Regions from separate parts of the Homo sapiens genome. Here region 1 is linked to region 2. Evidence: promoter capture Hi-C in 16 types of primary human blood cells and fetal thymus (Javierre and others, 2016). All regions are on one chromosome and are shown on one strand. Each heading gives the region's core, a stretch centred on a gene start or on the middle of the fragment in contact. The rest is flanking DNA. Distances are from core to core; before and after follow the strand shown.

Region 1 (6,094 bases), core at 2,901-5,400, 700 kb before region 2:
CAAAATACCATAGACTGGGAGGCTTAAAAAGCAGACATGTATTCTTTCGCAGTTTTTCGAGCTGGAAATCTGAGATCAGGGTGTCAGCTGGACTAGGTCCCCATGAGAGCTCTCCTTCTGGCTTGCAATCAGCCACCCTCTCACTGTGTCCCCATATGTCCTCTCCTCTATGCTCATGAGGAGGGGGTGGGGGAGAGAAAGAGATCTCTGTTCCTCTTCTCATGAGGCCACTAGTCTTATCATGAGGGTCTACCCTCATGACCTAATTTAACCCTCATTACTTTCCAAAGGCCCCATGATCAAGCACCATCACATTAGGAGTTAGGGCTTCTTCATATGAATTGGAGGATACCCAAATATTTAGATCAAAACAAAAGGCTCTGATTGGCCCTATTTGGGCCAGGTGCCCACCCCTGGGCCAGTCAATGGTCAGTCAGTGAGGTCAGAGGCATGGCCAGCTTCTATGGGCACCATATGGGAGGCTTCGGGATGGATGTGGAGGAAGAGTTCCCAGAAGAGCGGGACTCTTGGCAAACCAAAAAGCGTTCAGTGTCCTTGGCAATATGTGTGAATGTGGTGGCATGGTGGTGCCTAATACCACCATTCTTTTGTGACTGTAAATGTGACTGACTTTCTGTCCTTTGGATGAGAACTAGCTTAGTTTGTGCTTGTGTCTGGCACTTCTTCCTTCAGTTGTTTTTGCTAGCATCTAGCATTAAAAATCTATACTTGTATAGTTTTAAAAATATATACTTTATAAAACAGTTTCACACACAACAACCACCTAACGCAATGTTCACAGCTGTCTGCTCCGGGGATGCTAACTCTATTTCCCATTTGAGGAGATCAAGGCTGGCCACCTGCCCCAGTTCTGGGCAGCATTACATGGCAGAGGAAGTCTTGGAGATAGGGTCTTAGGATGGCCAGTTGAGTTCCAGCTTCTCCTTAACAATCTTCCTTCTTTGGTATTAAAATGATGTGTCTGGCAATTTAGAGTCTTTGCCCTTTGGGAGTGATGACAGCTGGTGTCTGTCAGGCAGGTGCCCGGTGCCAGGCTCTGTCCCAAGCCCTTTACTAGTGCCAGCTGCTTCAGTCTCCACAGCAGCCCATCAAAGAAGGCACTATTGTTATCCTCTTAAATGGATGGGGAAACTGAAGCAAGGGTAGTGTGTAGTTCGCCCAAGGCTGCAAGGCAAGCACTGTGAACATCAGCAGGAACCACGTTTTCTTACTTGGAGGCTGTGCTTCAAGAGGGCACAGTGGCTGGACTGTGGAGGTTGTGGCCCTGCTGGAGGGTGAGGAGCAACAGTTCTGAGGGCAGATGGAAGGACATCAGCTCATTCTTCTGCACCCAGCCCCACCTCAGTGACCCAGACAGGAAGGCCTTTCCCAGGGAGGGTGGAACTGCTCTCTGCTGAGCTGTGTCTGCACATGGTCAAAATTGACACACTCTAGAACCCAGGGGTGTCAGAGAAGCTAGGGGGCTTGTGGTTAAAGGGAACTTAAGCCAGAAGGGAGGAGTCTTGTCCACAATCACCTGCTAGTTTGTCTTAGGGCCTAGGTGCAAACCCATCTCCAATTGTCCATCCAGTGCTCTTTCCAGCCCTTGGACCTCTCAGTCAAGGTTCTCTCCCTCTGGGCCTCAATTTTCTCCTCCATATAATGAGGAATTCAATCTGACAATCCCAAGTCTTCTGTCCATCCCTATTGACCAAGAATCCCAGAGACCTGCCTAAGGCCACATTACTGCTTCCTCTTGTTGGCCATACTGGCCAGTTAAGATCCAGCCACCAGCTGTGGTCAAGGGAGAGAGAAAACTCACCCATAGCCTTAATGATCTTTGGAATCTCCATAATCACCACAGGCTGGCTGTGCTTGTGACAAGTGCTCACACTAGCAGTCAGCCAACCATCAGCAAACCTCTCCATGCTGGTCTCGGAGTAGCTGATGACCAGTCCTGGTCTCGGGGTAGCTGATGACCAGTCCTGGTCTCGGGGTAGCTGATGACCAGTCCTGGTCTCGGGGTAGCTGATGACCAGTCCTGTTCTCGGGGTAGCTGATGACCAGTCCTGGTCTCGGGGTAGCTGATGACCAGTCCTGGTCTCGGGGTAGCTGATGACCAGTCCTGGTCTCGGGGTAGCTGATGACCAGTCCTGGTCTCGGGGTAGCTGATGACCAGTCCTGGTCTCGGGGTAGCTGATGACCAGTCCTGGTCTCGGGGTAGCTGATGACCAGTCCTGGTCTCGGGGTAGCTGATGACCAGTCCTGGTCTCGGGGTAGCTGATGACCAGTCCTGGTCTCGGGGTAGCTGATGACCAGTCCTGGTCTCGGGGTAGCTGATGACCAGTCCTGGTCTCGGGGTAGCTGATGACCAGTCCTGGTCTCGGGGTAGCTGATGACCAGTCCTGCTGGCCTCAGCATTGTCCAAGGTCCTTTAATGTGTGTAGTGGTGGAAGAAAAGACTTTATTATTTGTTATCTGCCTTGCGGGGTCTCCTGGACAGGAGCAGATAGACACAAATGGGAGCTGGTTTAAATGGCGTTTTTGGGGACACAGGGAATGACCTTCCCTGTGCCCAAACATGAAGCAGATCCCCTCTTTCCTTGGTGTCCCTGTTCAATTTTCATGTTTTTATTGCTCAAATGTCTCCCATGGCTTTCTTTATCACATTGCTTCCAAATCCAAGATGGCGCTCCATGGTGTAGCTCCCTGGGAGTTTCCAGCATGACTGTCAGGTTTGAGTCAGCCATGGATGCCATCAGTTGGGTGTTGACACTCTCTTTGACATCCTTGGGAGAGCCCCAGGCAGACCCGGGCTGTGTTCTGTTTAAGGAACCATGAACTCCACTTCACTGTGTGATCTTGAGCCAGCATTTAGTCTCTGTAGGTCTTCTACTTTAACACTCAAATGAGAATGTTGGCCTAAATGATCTCTAAAGTCTTTTCTGTCTCCTCCTTCATTGTAGTTCCCATCTTCAATACTTCCATTGCTCCGAAGGTGGAAGTTCAGCATTTTAGCCCCCAAGTCCTAGCCCTGCTGAGTGTGACATGCAAAGCTTCGACCCACAGCAGGAAGTCTCACAGTTCTGGGCTAGGACTGCAGCTCTGTTTTCAGGAAAGTTATCTGGAGGCTCTTCTTCCTTTAGCCTCTCCCATGGCTTTCAATGTGGGGCAGGTGAGTTAATTATTCAAGGGGGTGTCTCTGCCAAGAGAAAGTCACCTGTGGAGAAGAGTTCTGTGTCTGGACTTGGAGCACAGCCACGATGCTGTCATCTGCTTCCTCTTGGCACACACCCTTGATCCAAGGCTTGCCATTTTCACTTCTAAATTACTAGGTTAATAGAAATGGCATCAAAACATTAAATAAAGTGAGGCATATACCATGGATCTGCAATTCTAATTGACTTGAAATTTAGAATCTGATAATTATTAGCATTGTGTTAATCTCCGTTATCATATGTGTAGCGAACACTGTGCAAAATAATTTGGGTAGAGAACGCGCAACTGTACTTTCAAAATGATGCCTAACGTGACTCTATTCTGTGTTGTTGTTTCACTGTTTTGCTCACCAGATCCTAACAATAACCCTGTGAGTGGCAGATGGGGTATTTTCCTTCCAGTCTTCCTCCTGGTAAACTGAGACTCAGGGTGGTGAGGGAACTTCCCATGGTTGACCCAGGACCAGAGCCCCCTTCTAGGCGAGTGGACTCCACCCCCAGCCCCCACGTGATGCGCTGTTTTTCCGATGCCCTCTTGCAGCTGTTGCTGCTTCTGCGCTGGGAGTTCTCTTTTTCACTTGAATGTTTTCTTCTCCAGGGCTGAGGACGCTCTTTGTATTGGTAGGCAGCCTGCACTTGTTCCTTTCAGTCCTGGCAAGTAAAAGCAGGAATTCTAAAAAGCAACGATTATTCCTCCTAGTTCCTTTGTACAGAGCCCTGTAAATAATTTATTTGGATTTGAGGGGGTAGAGACTGACAAACATATTGAATCTCTCAGTAACTGGGTGAATTCTGTGTTCAAAACTTCAATGCAGTGGAAAGAGAAATACTTCTTTGAAATCAGAGAAGACTTTGAGTGACCCGAGAGCTCAGGCGTGAGGCTGGAAACAGACCACAACAAGAAGTTTTTTTTTTTTTTTTTTTTTTTTTGGCACGTAAAGGTCACCCCTGAGGTTCCCACATCCACATCCTTCACAAATGTAGCTGGGATATTGAGACAACTAGCTCTGGAGTTGGAAAACACTGGGACAGGTCCGAGCTGGGGCACTGCCCAAGTCCCTCCTGTTGCACTCAATACCTGGGTTAAACAAAGAAAATTGTGTTTGCCAGTCTCACTAGCTAAAGTCACAAGATACTGAGTCTCATGCAGCACTCTGGAATTCCTACAAAAACTCATCCGCAGGGGTATGCTGCCCGCTACACAGAAACGGCCGTGCATCGGACTTTCCAGATAAAAACATTTAGTACAGAGTTGAAAAACCATGTGATGGTCATGGATTTTGTGAAGAGTAACTGGTTTCCCTCCCAGAGAAGAGCCAAAGTTTGTATCATCCATATGTGTCAAGGCTTGAAGACGGCTGAGCAGACAGCCAGCAGATATGAGGTATGGCTGAGCCTGGGTGGGTGAGTGGGTACACGCTTGACTCAGAGAGAGATGGACGTGTTGCTCATCAGACAGTTCAGGTGTTTTATCTGGTCTAATAAATTAATCATTTGTGTTTGTAGACTTCCCTAAGGGATTTGGAAAAGCCTTCTTCATTTCTGAATTTATTTTAGTTTTTGAAATATGGGGGAGGGGGAAAGTATATCGGATGAAGTTAATTTACGATGACACATGTCTGCATTTACAAACTTTATTGGTGCTCCAAAGACTACTGAGTTGGGTAATTTGTATCCATGTTTAGAAACTACAGCATGTTTCTGTGAGTTAAATATTCTTAGCTCTGTATGTTTGCAATCACCTGTCTTTAAAAGCAAATTCCTACTTGTTTCCTGTTGCGTTTTGTAGGAGAATATGTATGACGTGCCTTCATCGAGTTAAAATAGAATGATTCAAGTTAGGCCAGTAAGAATGATCTTTTATTTTTGAGAGCAAGCTCTAATTTTCAAGCAGAGACAACTTTGTAAAAAAAAAAAAAAAGACAGAGAGTGAGAGAACTTTGGAGATTTAAAATGTCAAAGTGAGATAAACACATTACTCTGAAACATATTTGTATTCTGCAACTAGTATCAGCCACAAGCAGTTATCTTTTCAGAAAGTAAACACGCATGAAATCTGATCGGCTGTTTATTGTACATGGAATAAATTATGAACGACATTGTAATTGACTCCCATATAGCTCATTTACCCATCTCTTTTGATAGATGTAACATGCAAATTGCTAATGCCTTATGAAAAGGTAACCTTTCTGAATATTGATGCTGTTATTAGGAAAGCCTTCCCATGAATACTGGCAAATACGCCAGGTCTTTGTTCCCCAGGCTGGGCAGAAGGAAGCCAGCACAGTGTGGAAGGAACAGGTTTTTCAAGGTTCAAGGCTGGCTTCTTCCAGTTCCAGCCCTGGGAGTGTGAATTTCCATGTTCACAACAGAGATGTAAAGGCCACAGAAATAATGGTGCTAATTAAATTCAGTAATAGTTGTTCATTACTTCATTGCCCAATCAACTGGAGCAAAAGGTGTGCAATTAGAATATAATTGAAAGAAATCAGAGATGTCATTATTCACAAGTAATTAATCAGATGGGGACAGAATTTTATCATTGCATAATTTTCACTGAGGTTATTTTCCAGTCCTCCAGAGAGAGAAAAACTTGTTGAATTACATTATTATGCATTGTTCATAGCTTCATTTTAAACCCTATGTAGCAAATGGTAGATCTGGCATTCTCGTTTTCTTCGTATATAAAACTTCACTGATTCCTATAGCCACACTGATTAAAACAATATGAAAAAAGTACACCTTTTTAGGAGGTTACAAAAAACTTCAAATATATGACAGTCACAGCTACATTTTTTTCAGGGCCCAATACGCTGCTACTATTGACAGCCAACAACCGAGCCACTAATGTTAAAATGAATGCCAGATCCAAGCCC
Region 2 (5,461 bases), core at 2,017-4,516:
GGACAGTCAGACAAAAATGAAAAAATAAATAAAAATGAATAAAACCTCAGAGAAGAATGGATTATGTAAAGAGGCCAAATCTACAAATCACTGGCATCCCTGAAAGGGAGAGAGAAAGCAAACAACTTGGAAAATATATTCCTAGATATCATCCCTGAAAACTTCCCTAACCTTACTAGAGGGACCTACAGTCAAACTCAGGAAATACAGGGAACTCCTGCAAGATTCTACACAAGAAGATCATCTTCAAGACACATAATTGTCAGGTTTTCCAACGTTGAAATGAAAGAATGTTAAAGGCAGCTAGAGAGAAAGGGCAGGTCACTTACAAAGGGATCCCCTTAGGCTAACAGTGAAACCCTACAAGCCAGAAGAGATTAGAGGCCTATATTCAACATTCTTTAAAAAAAAAAAAAAAATCTTCAACCAATAATTTCATATCCTGCCAAACTAAGCTTCCTAAGTGAAGGAGAAACAAGATCCTTTTCAGGTAAGCAAATGTTGAGGAACTTCATTACCAGACCTGCCTTATAAGAGATCTTGGAAGGAACAGTAAATATAGAAAGGAAAGACCGCTACCAGCTGATACAAAAATACACTTAAACACACAGACTAGTGTCACTGTAAAGCAACCACACAAACAAGCCAACATAATAACCAGCTAATGACAGGATCAGTGACAGCACCAGCTGACAGGATCAATGATATGATCAAACAGCACAATGTCAGGATCAAATCCACACATATCAATACTAACCTTGAATGTAAACAGGCTAAATGCCCCACTTAAAAGGCACAGAATGGGAGAAAATATTTGCAAACTATGTATCTGACAAAGGTCTAATATCCAGCATCCATAAAGAACTTAAACACATTTACAAGAGAAAAATAAACAACCCCATTAAAAATTGAGCAAAAGACATAAACAGACACTTCTCAAAAGAAGACATACATGTGGCCAACAAGCATATCAAAACCACAAAGAGAGGCCATCTCACACCAGTCAGAATGGCCATTATTAAAAAGCCAAAAAAATAATAGATGCTGGCAAGGTCACAAAGGGAACCTTTATACACTGTTGGTGGGATAAATTTGTTCAACGATTGTGGAAAGCAGTATGGCAATTCCACAAAGAGCTAAAACCAGAACTGCTATTTGACCCAGGAATCCCATTACTGGGTATATACCCAGAGGAATATAAACCATTCTACCATAAACACACATGCATGTGAATGTTCACTGCAGGACTGTTCATAATAGCAAAGACATGGAATCAACCTAAATGTCCATCAATGACAGACTGGATAAAGAAAATGTGGTACATATACACTATGAAATATTATGCAGCCATAAAAAAGAAAGAGATCAGGTCTTGTGCGGGAACATGGATGGAACTGGAGGCTATCATCTTTAGCAATCTAATGCAGGAACACAAAATCAAATACCGCATGTTCTCTTTTATAAGAGGAAGCTAAATGAGAAGAACTTAGGAACACAAAGAAGGAAACAACAGACCCTGGGGTCTACCTGAAGCGGGAGGGTGAGAGGAGCAGAAAAGGTAACTATTGGGTATTGAGCGTATTACCTGGGTGATGTAATACTATGTACAACAAACTCCTGTGACTCATATTTATCTGTGTGACAAACCTTCACACGTACCCCCAAACCTAAAATAAAAATTAAAAAAATAAAAATAGATACACACAAAGACACATAGGACATTACTACAGTTTTCAGCAGTTTACAACAAAACAAAACAAAAGATGACCCATTTATAAGAGACTGGACAAATAAGTTATTCTATGTCCATAAAGTGGAACATTATACACCCTTTGAAAAATGAATTTGTTCTATACTAGGTGCTTTGAAAGGACCTCCACTAAGTATTGTTGGGTGAGAAATCAAGGTGCAAAGAAAAACACAGAATATCTCATTTTTGCCAAAGGTAACAAGGGGTGCAGTAGAGTGTATACCAAGCTGTGTAGCATGCAATTGTTCTATGTTAGTTTTGTCTCCCCTGCTACACTTTAAGTTTCTTACAGGCTGGGTCCATGTCTTACACTTCCTTTGAAACTTCTCCCTGTAACTCAATCCTTCTTGAGCCTCAAATATATCACAGATTTACTGCATTGTTCATTTAAAAAAAAAGGATCTTGTATTTCCCTTGAGCCAATGTCCCAAGTAGCTGACCAGCACCCTCTGAAGACCCAGGGGTCTTCCTGCAGTGCAGACCCACTGACGAAGACAGGGCTGCCCTGGTCTTGCCACCCCAGGCCAGTGGGGCACACAGCCAACAATTTCCCTTACACGAAGACCCCAGAGATATGCTAGGAGGCAGCCTGCAAGCTCACTTTCCCAACTTTATTTTCCAAATGTTTATAGAAAGCATGATGGAATTGGATAAACCTAGGTTTGAATATGTTCTCTGAAACTGAGTTAAAAATACCACAAAGTGTTTTGTGATAATTAAGTTACAAAGTATCTAAATAAATGATGGCATATTTCCTACAGTAAAATCCTATACAACAACTAAAAGAAATTAGCTGTATGAGTTTTGTATACACCTGCATCAACATAGATCAATTCAAAATGGATGGGTGGAAAACATGGGTTGCAAAAGGACACACTACATAACACGCAAAAAACACTACATGTTATTTATGAATGCACAGATATGTAGTAAAAGTTAAAAAGCTGAAGGGAAGAACATACACCACCTCAACAACATAACGGAAGGGATGGGGGCATGATGGGCAGGAGGGGGGTCTTACCAGTATATTTGTAAGGTTTGATTTCTTCATGAAAAGACTTTATGACATATATGGCAAAATGTTAACATCTTAAACCAAATGGTACATTGAGTACATTACCATTTGAAATAATTTTGATATGTTTAAAATATTAGTTTTTGAAAAATAACCATAAAAATCAACAGTATACATTACCCTTATGGGCCTCTTGGTTTTCTTAGAGAAACCAATTTCAGGGTTCTAGATACTGAGGGATACATGTGGAAGAAGGAACTACTGAACCAGACACTGACCTCTTACTGTGAGTCATCTCACTGAATCCCAGCAATTCTGGCTGGTGATGTCACAATGACTCACATCTTCACGTCCTTGTATCACGACATCAGTGTTGAACAAATGATTTTTTTCACAGCCCACTAAAACCAAACACCAGGAATGGTAGACTGTTATGGATTACCCCCAAAATAACCAGAAGCCAACAAGTATTTCAATTCCAAAGACATCCAGCCTAGAATCCTACTAGAGATCAGAACAGGCAAGAAATTCTAAATTAATGTCAAATTTCAAAACAGTTCACCATGAAGTTATATGAGGAGTAAAAAGATAACATTCCCAGAGACCCAAAAGTTTCTTATGGCTTGTTCTTTACTGATCATTGATGTAGGTACATAATGAGAGATCTCCATCAGTGAGCTTGGCACCAGCCACAGGTGGCCCACTGCCACCAGAGCTGGGCACAGGCCCACTTCCAGCTGCTACTCATGATGGAGCAAAAACCCTCACTTCTAGCCATCACCCCTCCAGATCTGGTACAGAGCCCGGAAAAGGTGGGTGTGGTGCTTGGAAAGTTGGTTCGTGTGTGTGTGTGTGTGTGTGTGTGTGTGTGTGTGTGTGTTGGGGGCAGGTAGTGATCCAAATGTAATGGCAGCATGGTCTCTCCAAGGAAGCCTTAGGTGTGAGTGAAGCCTCAGTGAACACACACACGTGTCAGCAATGGACCAGCTGCTGCCAAATCACACAACTACGCAACACGTTGCTCAGAAATGCCAATGGTTAGTGTACGCCCCACTGATAATGTTCCTGCATCTTCTTTACTTTCATACAAAACTCATCAAGATGTAAATCTCCACTTAGGCAAGAGTTGCTTTTTGCAAAAAGCTATTATTGCCAGATAGGACCTGGATGGTCAGGTCATGAATGAATGACCTCATCAGGTAAGAGCTAGTTATTTTCAGAATGCCAAAAAATAGTGGATGGGACCCAATTTGTTTTGCTTTGTTTCTAAGCCAACCTAGAGTAATTTGACAGGTGTATCCTAATCCTTACAATATTAACCCATATACTTTCTACTTTCTCTTTGATAAAAATTCTGGTGTTTTTGTCATCATCTGCTAATATACATATTTTAGGATATTGGTTTTAGGATCCTAAATATGTATATTTACAGGTGACTAGCAGAGTGCAAACATTACTATGACAATGGAGCAGAGGCCCGGGGCGGCACCGAGCCTTGGTAAGAGCCGACAGAAATGGCAGGTCACAGGCCGTCACTGAGGAGAACTGCAATGCGGCAACACTTATATGACACTTAATTTGGGTCATGTACTAGTGTGGATGCTTTATTTATTCATTTAACTTTCACCACATTTAACTTCACCAACTCTATATGCTGTAAGGATTTTTATTATCTCCCTTATAAACAATCTGAGGCACAGAGAAGTTACATAACTTGCCCAAGGTCACACAGAAATAACTGGTAGAACCAGGATTAAAATGAAGATAATCTGGCTCAGAAGTCCCTTACTTTTAACCTTGTACCATACTGCCTCTTAAGAGTAGAGATATAAAATGTAGACCGGAGCGGCCGGGCGCAGTGGCTCACACCTGTAATCCCAGCACTTTACTTTCGGAGGCCAAGGTGGACGAATCACAAAGTCACGAGATCGAGACCATCCTGGCTAACATGGTGAAACCCTGTCTCTACTAAAAATACAAAAAAATTAGCCGGCCGTGGTAGCGGGCACCTGTAGTCCCAGCTACTCAGGAGGCTGAGGCAGGAGAATGGCGTGAACCCAGGAGGCGGAGTTTGCAGTGAGCCAAGATCATGCCACCGCACTCCAGCCTGGGCGACGGAGCGAGACTCCGTCTCAGAAAAATGTAGACCAGGGTGAAAAATCTACTATTAGTTCGTTCTCCAGATTTCCTTAAATTATTCATTTTAAATCAGGTCTAGCTTGTGAACTGGCTTGAACCCCAAGGAAATTTTTAAATGATCAAGAAAACTTGGTCAGAAAAAGTGAGACAATGCAAACCAGGTAATTGTTTGAATAAAGTAGAGAGATGTTGTGTGCAAGCAGAAGAGAAGGCAACTTATTATAGCACCGAGGTCAGGGAGGCTGCTGACCTTCAGGAGCCCAGTCCAGGAAAGGAAAGATGGTATAGAAAGCCCATAGCAACCAGTAGTGGAGACCAAGAAGGCAGAGAGTTTGACTGATGTTTACTTGCAGACACTATGGGAATGGGTAGGAAGCCAGTCAAATGCTGCATTAGGTTCAGCATGAAATCTGGAAGAGGAAGAGTTGCATCAACAGGAGGGAAAGGCTATAGAATGTGGGTGAAACAATTAGCAAGATAGCTCATAGATAAATCTGAAAAGATTGTATATACTTAGGGCAGAAAGCACATATCACAGTGGAAAAGTACTCTGAATT

Evidence for each region. Contacts are between HindIII fragments. The CHiCAGO score rates a contact against its expected background, and 5 or more counts as called.
Region 1: the fragment with the promoter of C10orf90 here is called in contact with the fragment with the promoter of FANK1-AS1 in region 2 in 16 of 17 cell types (erythroblasts, total B cells, endothelial precursors and 13 more); the score reaches 19.5 in erythroblasts.

The regions. Positions count from the first base shown.
Region 1 is chr10:126,668,749-126,674,842 of GRCh38, reverse strand. It overlaps C10orf90 (chromosome 10 open reading frame 90), which reads left to right and starts at 4,150. Exons shown (of 10, transcript NM_001350921.2): 1 at 4,150-4,602. The coding sequence starts at 4,363. RefSeq lists a silencer at 1,902-2,124. The HindIII fragment of the contact is 6,507 bases long and covers 3,059-6,094 here.
Region 2 is chr10:125,971,078-125,976,538 of GRCh38, reverse strand. It overlaps FANK1-AS1 (FANK1 antisense RNA 1), which reads left to right and starts at 3,266. Exons shown (of 4, transcript NR_102707.1): 1 at 3,266-3,285; 2 at 3,415-3,577; 3 at 3,694-3,802; 4 at 4,198-4,351. All of the region lies in intron 1 of FANK1 (fibronectin type III and ankyrin repeat domains 1), which reads right to left. The HindIII fragment of the contact is 7,061 bases long and covers 458-5,461 here.